Linked DNA regions of Homo sapiens: region 1 is linked to region 2. Evidence: promoter capture Hi-C in 16 types of primary human blood cells and fetal thymus (Javierre and others, 2016). All regions are on one chromosome and are shown on one strand. The core of a region is centred on a gene start or on the middle of the fragment in contact, and the rest is flanking DNA. Distances in the headings are between cores, read along the strand shown.

Region 1 (5,949 bases), core at 347-2,846, 1.6 Mb before region 2:
ATGTGAGTGGGAGGAAAGGGGTCTGTAAAGCGGGAGAACAAGGCTAGCCTCCCCCTAACAATCCTAGACTGAGACGCAGTCAGGCGCACGCCCGCAAGAGGCGGCGAGGTGACAAGTTTGGAGTGCGCCCCCTTCAGTACTGCGCGTTCTAAGACTTTTGGCGGAGACTTTCTTGGCAAAACCCATTCCCCAAAGCTACGCTTCCCCTGCTGAGATAGCCCCTACCCCCACCTCCACAGGCTGGGACAGCCCCGTCCCCACCATCCTCCTCCCAAGCCAATTAAATGATCACAGCACGCGTGACAGTTACCGGCTGGAGAGCCGGAGGTGGGACCGGGAGCAGGGGACCGTAGAACCGGGCCGCGCTCCTCCCCTCCTAGAGTTCGTGGAGGCGCAGCAGAGGGCCGTCCCTCTTCCGGATGTCGGACTAAGCGAACAGCGCCCCCACTGCCGGCCGGTAGCAGCCGGAAGTGCCAGACCGGAGGTGCGTCATTCACCGGCGACGCCGATACGGTTCCTCCACCGAGGCCCATGCGAAGCTTTCCACTATGGCTTCCAGCACTGTCCCGGTGAGCGCTGCTGGCTCGGCTAATGAAACTCCCGAAATACCGGACAACGTGGGAGATTGGCTTCGGGGCGTCTACCGCTTTGCCACTGATAGGAATGACTTCCGGAGGTAACCGAGCCCGAGGAACTTGGTCCTTTTCTGGCCCTTAAATCCGTATTTCCCCTTTCTTGCGAGGCTGGCGCCTCAGGGTTTTTTGTTTTTGTTTTTTAACATTACCAGCATTGTGGCGTCTTCGTAGCTCTGGCTGTGCCTCACTGAGATCCCTGGCCAGGAGAGTTCCCGTGTGGCAAAAGCGATCTTTCTGTCATGTGGCTGTATCTGTAATGTCACCCTGATCAAGGGAAGAAGTGCTAGCACGTAAACAGGCTTTTTCGGCCCTGGACTAGTGCTTTAGCTGGGCTTTGCGTTTGATCTTACATTTCTTTTTTGTTTTTTTTTTTTTTTTGAGACGGAGTCTCACTCTGTTGCCCAGGCTGGAGTGCAGTGGCGCGATCTCGGCTCACTGCAAGCTCCGCCTCCCGGGTTCACGCCATTCTCCTGCCTCAGCCTCCCGAGTAGCTGGGACTACGGCCGCCCGCCACCACGCCCTGCTAATTTTTTGTATTTTTAGTAGAGACGGGGTTTCACCGTGTTATCCAGGATGGTCTCGATCTCCTGACCTCGTGATCCGCCCGCCTCGGCCTCCCAAAGTGCTGGGATTACAGGCGTGAGCCACCACGCCCGGCCTTTTTTTTTTTTTTTTTTTTTTTTTTTGAGACGGAGTCTCACTCTGTCGCCCAGGCTGGAGTGCAGAGGCGCAATCTCGGCTCACTGCCCCTTCTGCCTCCCGGGTTCAAGCGATTCTCCTGCCTCAGCCTCCCCAGTAGCTGGGATTACAAGCGCGCGCCACCACGCCCAGCTAATTTTTGTATTTTTAGTAGAGACGGGGTTTCACCATCTTGGGCAGGCTGGTCTCAAACTCCTGACTTCTCGATCCACCCGACTCTGCCTCCCAAAGTGCTGGGATTACAGGCGTGAGCCACCGCGCCCGGCCACATTTATTTCTTTTTGAGACAGCCTCGCTCTGTCGCCCAGGCTGGAGTGTAGTGGCGGACCTCAGCTCACTGCAGCCTCCGCCTCCCGGGTTCAAGCGATTTTCCTGCCTCAGCCTCCCCAGTAGCTGGGATTACAGGCGCGCACCACCACGCCCAGCTAATTTTTGTATTTTTAGTAGAGACGGGGTTTCACCATGTTGGCCAGGCTGGTCTCGAGCTCCTGACTTCGTGATCCGCCTGCCTTGGCCTTCCAAAGTGCTGGGATTACAGGCGTGAACCACCGCGCCCAGCCTGACCTTACACTTACTAGGCACAAAAATGAACTCCAAATTCCCACGTGGGTCTTGAGCAACCTGCCGTCACAACCACGTATCAACGCCTCGGGAAGGTGGTGATGGAAGCCTTTCCCCCCAGTACATTTCGTTAACTGTACAACTGACTCAGTGACCACAGGGTTAATAAAACACATTGTTTTTCCAGGAACTTGATACTAAATTTGGGACTCTTTGCTGCGGGAGTTTGGCTGGCCAGGAACTTGAGTGACATTGACCTCATGGCACCTCAGCCAGGGGTGTAGCCAAGTAGGTAAGCACTGAACTACACCCATGCGTGTCTTAGGAGACCTAGAGACTGGGTGAAGCAATGTTTTCTGTCAAGTATTCATGAAATGTACAAAAGAATGTGATGTAAAACCCTTAACTATTCCTAGTTAAATGTGTTTTCAGATGTTGAAAGGGATTTAAGTATCTCTTACCAGTTTCCCTCCCATACTTTTACAGTTCTAATGCCACCTGTCGTCTTATCATCTGATTGCAGACAAATGGAATCCTGTGCTGAACCCGAATCTTCCAAAAAACAGCCTACAATCTGTGACCACCACAAGATGTGCCCTGATGGCAGCTGAAGTTTGATTCAGATGGGCACTTTTCTTCCCCTTCCCTGCCTAGTTTCCTTTTGTTCCTTGAGTCCACGCAGAATTCCATTCTCTGGTCAGCAGACAGGCTTAAGCTAAAGTATTGCCTCTATTCTGTAAAGTTCTGTACATAGTTCCCAAGCTTCTGCAGGGGGTGATTTTTGCTCTTGTCCTGAGAAATAACAGTGCTGTTTTAAAAAACATTTGAAATAAATACCGCACACAAAGGCAGTCATTTTATTCTTTTAATAAGAAACTTTTGCTTACAAAAACAAGGTGTAAAAAGATTTACAAAAATCATAAAAACATGATTTATATTTCACACTTGAGAGACAAAAACAAGCCCCAAAACATGGATTTTAATGGAGGTGGTTTGCTTCATTTTAAAAGGGAAAAAAAAAAAAGGAAGCTGTAACCATACATTGATGTTAACCTAGCATGAAGTTTATTCTTGAAGAATTTACATTGTTGAGCAATATTAGGGGAAGAAGCCATTTGGTGTTGCATAGCATTTTAGTGCACCAGATGGGTTTTCCAGACACCAGGGAGGCATCATTGCTGGAATAGTGAGGTTTGGTGGCAGAAAGAGGGCAGTGATGTGTAGGGGGAGGCAAAGTGAAGTAAGCCTGGGCAGTGGTCACTAAAGTGACACTGCTGAGGCAGCTGCTTCCTTCAGAAGGAAATGTTTTGTGACCCTAAAATTCATGGTAGTGCTACTGTCCAGGGTTTGGGGGCTCTTTGGAAATGGAGTATGTACGGAACTGGCATGTATAGACTTATATAGCCATAGAAAGAGGTGGATAGAAACAGGTCCACCATGGCAATATTTTTTTCTGGCCAGTTTACTAGGCATTAAAAAAAATACTGCTTTTATGTGCCAAGTCTCTTATGGAACTAGTATGGGATTAAAGGACGTTAATTGGAAAGGAGGGTCAGTATATAAGGACCACAGTGGCCTGTTAAGGATGACAGATGTCTCTAGCAGTTTGTTCACTACTAAAGTTAAACAGGACAAAATAGTCTTTCCTGACCTTGCTGGCATAAATATTAAGAAAATTGTTTGAGAATTAGATTTTTTTAGTATGTATATAAAAACAGCACCATTCTTTGTATAAATCAGATAGATCTTATCTGATAGATGAAGCTAAGACCCTTTGAGTCTACACTGGGTTGACTCTGAGAGGTTTATATCTTATTGGGTATTAAGATAAAGAAGGGTCACATGAGAGCAAAGCTTAGCTTTGAAGCCATCACCTCCCAAATGGTGACCAAGGAGGAAACTTTTAAGCCATAGTATAGATGCTAACCCCCATTTAGACCTGCATCAGATCACTTGCTAAGACAAGAAATACCAGCACCTCCTGTTCTTTATAGGAATGAAACTTAGATCCTTAAAGGCTGCTACCTGATATACTCATGACTGGACAGTTTTGATAAAAACTTCCAAAATTGAAAATCAAAATCCAGCAAGAATTAAGACATGGCAGCTTCCAAAAGCATAATTCAAATTTCATTCAAAATTTACTGTTTTGGCTTCAAGTAAGTGTTTACTGTTGGTTGGGTTTTAAAGCCATAATTATGGTTGAGTAAGGATTCATTTATTTATTTATTAAATTTTTATACATTTTTGAAAAGATTTCAAATCTATGTTTCCCAGGCTGGTCTTGAGCTCCTGGCCTCAAGCAATCCTCCCACCTTGGCCTCCCAAAGTGTTGGGATTACAGGTGCTAGCCAACTGCATCCAGCCAATGTTTCATTTCAACTGGCTTAAATCTTCAAAGTGGTTAAGAATTTAGTAAATAAAACTACTTAATCTACAACTTTCAAAAATTGATGAGTAATCACTAATTCTGTAAATGAAGGAGTTGGACTTCACTATTGCCAAAGCAACATTTTCCCCAAGGAAAGTCAATTTGATATCCTGTCACACTTTTCAGCCCTGGCTAGTTAACACAGTACTATGAAAATCTTTAGCTAGATTTTAAACGAAATATGCCAGCAGAAGTATGGAATGAGTCCACAAAAATGAGTGCCTGCCACAATGCTATAGTAGCTATGGTGTATTTAGTGCAGAGTGTGGGATGAATAAGTACATAGTAATTAAAGTCATAGTCCTGGCCCAACAGAACAGTTACTAAATGTAAGATACAAACTAAACTCACAGTCATATTTAGAAGGCGCTTTTCAGCTTTAGCACTGACTTAAAAAGTCTGAACCACCAGGAAGATGCGTACTTAACTGGTTAAAAAATTAAGTGGCCCTGGAAAGTTTTACCCCAAAGATACAACTTCTTCACTTATTTAGTTCAGTAATGAGGCTGAGGGACCCAATTTTCAAGTGTGCATTTGAGTGGGAAACTTTTAAACACCATATGTTGAAGTTTCATGAGCTCAGTGGAAACCTTAAGGTCAGAGTAAAAGAAACTGGCTGTAAACAGCCCTGCAGTGAAGAGACTGGGTCTTAGCACCTTCCACATTCACTCAGCGCCATCTCAGTCAGCGCCTGCCAGGGAAAGGGCATGGAGAGCTGGGACGGGTGCCTTCTCTTTTGCACCACTCCCTTTGCATATTACACAGTGCACTGGCTTGCCTTACAATCTAAGGTTCACATACAGGGGGTTTTCTATACTGCTTCCGGACATTTTTTGCAAAAGAACATCAGAACCAATGAAGGTACCATTTCAGGAGGAATCATTTTTGTTTGACTTCTGCTATATGTTGCCCAGCATTAGTCATTGTTTTGATAAAGACTAAAAGGCCTTTTCTCAACATTTGTGCTCTCCCAACCACCTGGGAAAGCAACCCTTCCACTCACAAGAGGTAACCTCAGATAGGGATATAGTATTCATTTAAGAAGGGGTAGCCCCCCAGCCTGATTTAAAAAGGCCCAAGTCAATGTATGGAACATGACAAGGGAAGTGAAAAACAATGGAGTACACAGTCTGCCTTGAAAAGCAGCCATTTGATGAACAGTCACAAATACAAAGAATTTGGACATTGTAACATAATTTCAGAACTTGCTGGTAAGAATAATTTGCATTCACACACAAGAGACATGAAATGCTTTTTAAAAGTCTGTGATACCAGATGTCCTTTAAACACTACACAGACCCATTTGCCACTTGAAATGACAAGAAGAAATCCTTTCCCTTAATCTTTTCAATTCCATGCAAACCGTAATTGAGTACAAGGCACCAAATTTTATGAATTGTATAAAATTAGTTCACAAAGCTTTATCAGTAAGTAGAACAAACTCCATTTCTCCCTCCCGGCCAGCCCACCCTCCTCCCACCCACCACCCGCCATCCCCGACCAAGTTTTCATTCTGCACTACTGTCGACCTCTCTAGGGCTTATGCTGGGGCATGCCCCACTGTCAGCCAATCCACCTCATTGGTTCTTCCCTTGTACTTGGATGAAGCTGTAAGCACAGCCA
Region 2 (5,875 bases), core at 1,293-3,792:
CTCGGCTGGCTACAACCTCCACCTCCCAGCCGCCTGCCTTGGCCTCCCAAAGTGCCGAGATTGCAGCCTCTGCCTGGCCGCCATCCCGTCTAGGAAGTGAGGAGCGTCTCTGCCCGGCCGCCCATCGTCTGAGATGTGGGGAGCGCCTCTGCCCCGCCGCCCCGTCTGGGAGATGAGGAGCGTCTCTGCCCGGCCGCCCCGTCTGAGAAGTGAGGAGCCCCTCCGCCCAGCAGCCGCCCCGTCTGAGAAGTGAGGAGCCCCTCCGCCCGGCAGCTGCCCTGTCTGGGAAGTGAGGAGCGTCTCCGCCTGGCAGCTGCCCCGTCCGGGAGGTGGGGGGCAGCCCCCGCCCGGCTAGCTGCCCCGTCCAGGAGGTGGGGGGGGGCGCCTCCGCCCGGCCAGCTGCCCTGTCCTGGAGGTGGGGGGCGCCTCTGTCCGGCCGCCCCTTCTGGGAAGTGATGAGCCCCTCTGCCCGGCCGCCACCCCATCTGGGAGGTGTACCCAACAGCTCATTGAGAACGGGCCATGATGACGATGGTGGTTTTGTCGAATAGAAAAGGGGGAAATGTGGGGAAAAGATAGAGAAATCAGATTGTTGCTGTGTCTGTGTAGAAAGAAGTAGACATAGGAGACTCCATTTTGTTCTGTACTAAGAAAAATTCTTCTGCCTTGGAATGCTGTTAATATATGACCTTACCCCCAACCCCCTGCTCTCTGAAACATGTGCTGTGTCCGCTGAGGGTTAAATGGATTAAGGGCGGTGCAAGTGCTTTGTTAAACAGATGCTTGATGGCAGCATGCTCGTTAAGAGTCATCACCACTCCCTAATCTCAAGTACCCAGGGACACAAACACTGCGGAAGGCCGCAGGGTCCTCTGCCTAGGAAAACCAGAGACCTTTGTTCACTTGTTTATCTGCTGACCTTCCCTCCACTATTGTCTTATGACCCTGCCAAATCCCCTTCTGCGAGAAACACCCAAGAATGATCAATAAAAATAAATAAATAAATAAATAAAAAACTGTGATTCATGGGATTCATGGGAGGAGGACAACGTATATCAACATTAACAGAAGTTTGGAAGAAGCTGATTCCAACCTTCACGGATGGACCTTCAAGACATCAGTGGAGGAAGTAACTGCAGATGTGATGGAAACAGCAAGTGAATTAGAATTAGAAGTGGAGCCTGGCCAGGTGCAGTGGCTCACACCTATAATCCCAGCACTTTGGGAGGCCAAGGCAAGCGCATCACCTGAGGCCAGGAGTTCAAGACCAGCCTGGGCCAGGTAGCAAGACTCTGTTAATTAATTACTAAAGATTGTGAAATGCAAACCTACATCTCTTAGTTTTTAAAAATAGGAAAATTAATTCTTGACGTTGAGGGATATGGGGCTTCTTACTGAGATTAAGTGGGATAACCATAATTGTCATTTGTTTAGCTTTTCTTCTTCAAGCACTGTACACACCTATGTAAAGGCGGATACCAACACCATGCCTGACAAACATAATAAAATAAAGATGCAGAAGTAACCTGCCCAACATCCCTCTGCTAAAAGCATTCAAACCCAGGTCCGTATAATTATAAAGGTTATGTTCTTCCCACTGCTTCCTTAAAAGATTTATTGGAGGACTACCCTAGGCAAAGCACTTGCCCTAAGCACTCTAAATTAATTATTCAACTCTCTCAACAGTACTTTAGTATTGGTATTGTCCCTGTTGTACAAATAAAGAAGTTGAGGCTCGGCCGGGGTGGTGGCTCACGCCTGTAATCCCGGCTCTTCGGAAGGCCAAGGCGGACGGATCACGAGGTCAGGAGATCGAGACCATCCTTGCCAACATGGTGAAACCCCGTCTCTACTAAAAATACGAACAAAAAAATTGGCTGGGCGTGGTTGCGCGCGCCTGTAGTCCCAGCTACTCGGGAGGCTGAGGCAGGAGAATCGCTTTAACCCGGGAGGCGGAGGTTGCAGTGAACCGAGATTGTGCCACTGCACTCCAGCCTGGTGACAGAGCGAGACTCCGTCCCCCCCCCAAAAAAAAGTTGAGGCTCAAAAAAGTTAGGTAACTTGTCCAAGGTCATGCAGCCCTAGAATAATAAGGGAAAACAGTGTGTCCCAAAATGGCATTATTTGTCCGTGGGGCAGGTATGTTTGAATTTCCATCCATCCATCTATCTATCTGAGACTGGGGTCTCGCTATGCTGCTTGGACTGTTCTCGAACTCCTGGGCTCAGGCCATCCTCCTGGGATCTACCGGCGCGCAGAGACTACGGGCGCGCAGGGACTACCGAGGCGCGCAACCGTGCCCGGCTCCCCACCTCTTCAAGAAATGGAGATTGCAATGCTTGTGCCAACTAGTAAGCTTACACAGTTGTGAGCGAATACTCCACGTGAGAGGTTATAAATGACGTTGCACTAAGGGAGGGATGGATCCTTAACGCAAGTCAGGCCACAAAAGCGTACCAAAACGCAACTGTGCGTCTGCACCAGCGCGCCTGCGTGCAAAGGCCAGCCGAAGCAGAGAGCAGTGCACATGCGTGCAGCTACCAGCATATGGGCGTGGCGAATAGCGCCGGCTAGGTCTTCCAACCTCTAGGTGGGGTGCCAGCCGGGGCGGGCCCAGCACCCCGGCCGGGCAGTACTTTTTTTTTTTTTGCATACACCAGTTCTCAGGATATCGGAATCCGGTGCACAGCAGCTTCTTCAGGTTTGAGGTTCCGGATGCCTGGGGGCGGAGAAACGGGAGGGGAAAAACAGATGGCAAGGTGGGTGACCAGCGTCCAGAAATCCACTGGGGAAACCTCCTCCCGTTTTTACCCTTGGTACCGCGAGAATGGGCGGGGTCTGGCTTCGGGGCGGAAGCGACGGGCGGTCCCGGTTCCAGGGCGGGGCTGGAGACAGGGAGACCCGGCTGGGAAGTGCAGGCAAAGCCGGCTGTTACCCTGCACAGCCGTCACCCTCAACTTTCCCTTCAGGTGAGGCGTCCATGGAACGACTTCTGGCCCAGCTGTGCGGCAGCAGCGCAGCGTGGCCGCTCCCGCTGTGGGAGGGGGACACCACAGGCCACTGCTTCACCCAGCTGGTGCTCAGCGCCCTGCCCCACGCGCTCCTCGCCGTGCTCAGTGCCTGTTACTTGGGCACCCCGAGGTGGGTAGAGACGGGCGCAAGGCATCTGTCCATGTGTGCCTGCAGATCTCACCCGCGGCCTACATCTTCCGGCAGTGTCACCAGAATAGCGAGGTCTCTGGAGTAGGGCAGAAGTAGAATAAAATCTAAGCATTGCTACTTAGCAGCAATGTGGCTGTTCTTGGGCAAGTACCTGCCTTCTCTGAGTCTCATTGTTGGGAGGTTTAAATGAGATAATGAATTTAAGCATATAGTGCAGCGCCTGGCATGTTTTTAAAGGTCCGATGAGTATCAGAAATCATCAGAATTGTCCATTTTCAGCTACCCGGACTCAGCTGTCATGAATTGGAGGCAGAATTGGGGGAACAACGTTTTTAGCCAAAAGCGATGATGTGTTTAAGTTGTAGGCTCAGTTTCTCACCACTGCAACCCATGAAACCTTAGTGTTTCCAGATTAAGAAAAGCATACCTAGGCTCAGCTGAAGAGGAAGCAGTAGATAGACAAGAAGAGCAAAATCAAACATTAAGCCTTCCCCAATTAAGGGCTATAAGGTGTGGATGCTAAACTCAACTTGATTTTGTATTTAGTTCTTGTATGGCTAGAGATGACTAAAGTTAGTCTCATTCTGGCTGCCGAGAAGATAGGAGGACGGTGTGGTCTCTGCCTTTGGGAGTTCCTAGTCTGATGGGGGGAAGTGTCTCTATCCAAGAGGTCTTTCTTGCTTTCTCATTAGACTGAGTTCCCAAAAGACTGTGCCAATTTTTAATAGCTGCTCTTCTGAGAAGGCTGTCTATGCTAGGTGATTAAACCCTTCTAGACTTTTGTCTCTGTGTAAGAAACAAATCAGGATTCCTCCCAGACCAAGCGGATACACAGCTTCTCCTATCCAAGGAAGGGATTCATCCGCCCCCTGGGAAAGCAAGAAAGACCATCATGTGATCAATAGAAATTGTGCTTCACTTCACTTATCAGCCTTGTGTGTGTTGCTGAGAAGGGTTAGAGAGATCGAGAATCTAAGACAGGAAAGGGCCTCAGAAGGCTTTAACTTGAGACTCACTGCTCACCATACTGGTGAGGAAAGTGAGATTCAGAGAGGAAAAGAGACTTGAAGGGGTGATGAGGCTGGTTGATGGCCAACTTGGGGCCAGTTTATGCCTCCAAGGGCCCAGTGTTCTTTCTTGGGTCCCCACATCTTAGGAAATATATATATTTTTTTCTTTTCCTTCTTTCTTTTCTTTCTTTCTTTTCTTTCTTGTGTGTGTGTGTGTGTGTGTGTGTGTGTGTGTGTGTGGCGGGGGGGAGGGGGGATTGTTATTGTTGTTTTGTTTTTTGAGGCAGCGTCTCCCTCTGTTGCCCAGGCTGAAGTACAGTGGTGCAATCACAGTTCACTGCAGCCTCAACCTCCTGGGCTCCAGCAACCTCTCACCTCAGCCTTTTGATTTGCTGGGGCCACAAGTGCATGCCACCACACCTGGCTAATTTTTTTAAAAATTATTTTTAATAGGCCGGGTGCAGTGGCTCAAGCCTGTAATGCCAGCACTGTAGGAGGCCAGGAGTTCGAGACCAGCCTGCCAACGTGGCAGAATGCCATCTCTACTAAAAATACAAAAAATTGGCCGGGCCCAGTGGCTCATGCCTGTAATCCCAGCACTTTGGGAGGCTGAGACAGGCAGATCACTGGAGGTCAGGAGTTTGAAACCAGCCTGGTCAACATGGTGAAACCCCATCTTGAATCGCTTGAACCCAGGAGGCAGAGGTTGTGGTGCGCCAAGATTGCACCACTGCACTCCAGCCTGGACGACAAAGCGAGACTCTGTCTCAAAAAGAAAAAATTATTTTTAGTAGAGACAAGGCCTTGCTTTGTTGTCCAGGCTGGTCTTGAACTCTTGGGCTCAAGCAATCCTTCTGCCTCAGCCTCCTAAAGTTCTGGGTTTACAAATGTGAGCCACCATGCCCAGCCAGAAATAGAAAAAAATTTTTTTTTTCTTTGAGACAGGGTCTTACTCTGTCACCCAGGCTGGAGAGCAGTGGCACGATCTCGGCCCACTGCAACCTCCACCTCTTGGGTTCAAGCGATTCTCCTGCCTTAGCCTCCAGAGTAGCTGAGACTACAGGCATGTGCCACCATGCCTGGCCAGTTTTCGTATTTTTACTAGAGATGGAGTTTCACTGTGTTACACAGGCTGGTCTTGAACTCCTGGCCTCAAGTGATCCACCTGCCTCTGCCTCCCAAAGTGCTGGGATTACAGGCTTGAGCCACCATGCCCAGCCCAGAAATAGAATTCTTAAAGGCTGATTTTTTATTCCCATCTAAATCCCTACAAATAACTGTCATCAGGTGGACTTTTAAGAAAACCCCCAGCTACTCGGGAGGCTGAGGCAGGGGAATCGCTTGAACCTGGGAGGCGGAGGTTGCAGCGAGCTGAGATCACGCCATTGCGCTCCAGCCTGGCGACAGAGCAAGACTCTGCATTTTAGCTTACAAGTAAACTTTTTTAGTAACCTAGCCGTGCCACAAAGGGTGTAACAGACTCAGTCCTCTTTTTGTATGAACTTTCAAGACATCCTGATACTCACTGCTGCAGATACGTTTTCCTGTATTTGATTCTTTTTTTTTTTTTTGGACAGAGTCTCTCTTTGTCACCCAGGCTGGAGTACAGTGGCACGATCTCAGCTCACTGCAACCTCCGCCTCCCAGGTTCAAGCGATTCTCGTGCCTCAGTGTCCCAAAGTAGCTGGGATTACAGGTGTGTG

Evidence for each region. The method cuts DNA at HindIII sites, captures the fragments that hold promoters and counts their contacts. A CHiCAGO score of 5 or more calls a contact.
Region 1: a contact is called between a fragment that was not itself captured here and the fragment with the promoter of ABCC10 in region 2, in 1 of 17 cell types (fetal thymus). The highest score is 6.1, in fetal thymus.

The regions. Positions count from the first base shown.
Region 1 is chr6:41,787,150-41,793,098 of GRCh38, forward strand. It overlaps TOMM6 (translocase of outer mitochondrial membrane 6), which reads left to right and starts at 545. Exons shown (of 3, transcript NM_001382294.1): 1 at 545-676; 2 at 2,083-2,187; 3 at 2,419-2,746. The coding sequence starts at 549. The coding sequence ends at 2,179. It overlaps USP49 (ubiquitin specific peptidase 49), which reads right to left. Exons shown (of 8, transcript NM_001286554.2): 8 at 2,747-5,949. It overlaps PRICKLE4 (prickle planar cell polarity protein 4), which reads left to right. Exons shown (of 8, transcript NM_013397.6): 8 at 1-303. RefSeq lists enhancers at 233-1,232, 303-992. The HindIII fragment of the contact is 2,118 bases long and covers 538-2,655 here.
Region 2 is chr6:43,424,999-43,430,873 of GRCh38, forward strand. ABCC10 (ATP binding cassette subfamily C member 10) reads left to right here and starts at 2,543. Exons shown (of 22, transcript NM_001198934.2): 1 at 2,543-2,759; 2 at 2,970-3,141. The coding sequence starts at 2,981. It overlaps LOC105375065 (a long non-coding RNA gene), which reads left to right. Exons shown (of 6, transcript XR_007059585.1): 6 at 1-1,016. RefSeq lists enhancers at 497-1,018, 3,120-3,189. The HindIII fragment of the contact is 12,589 bases long and covers 2,355-5,875 here.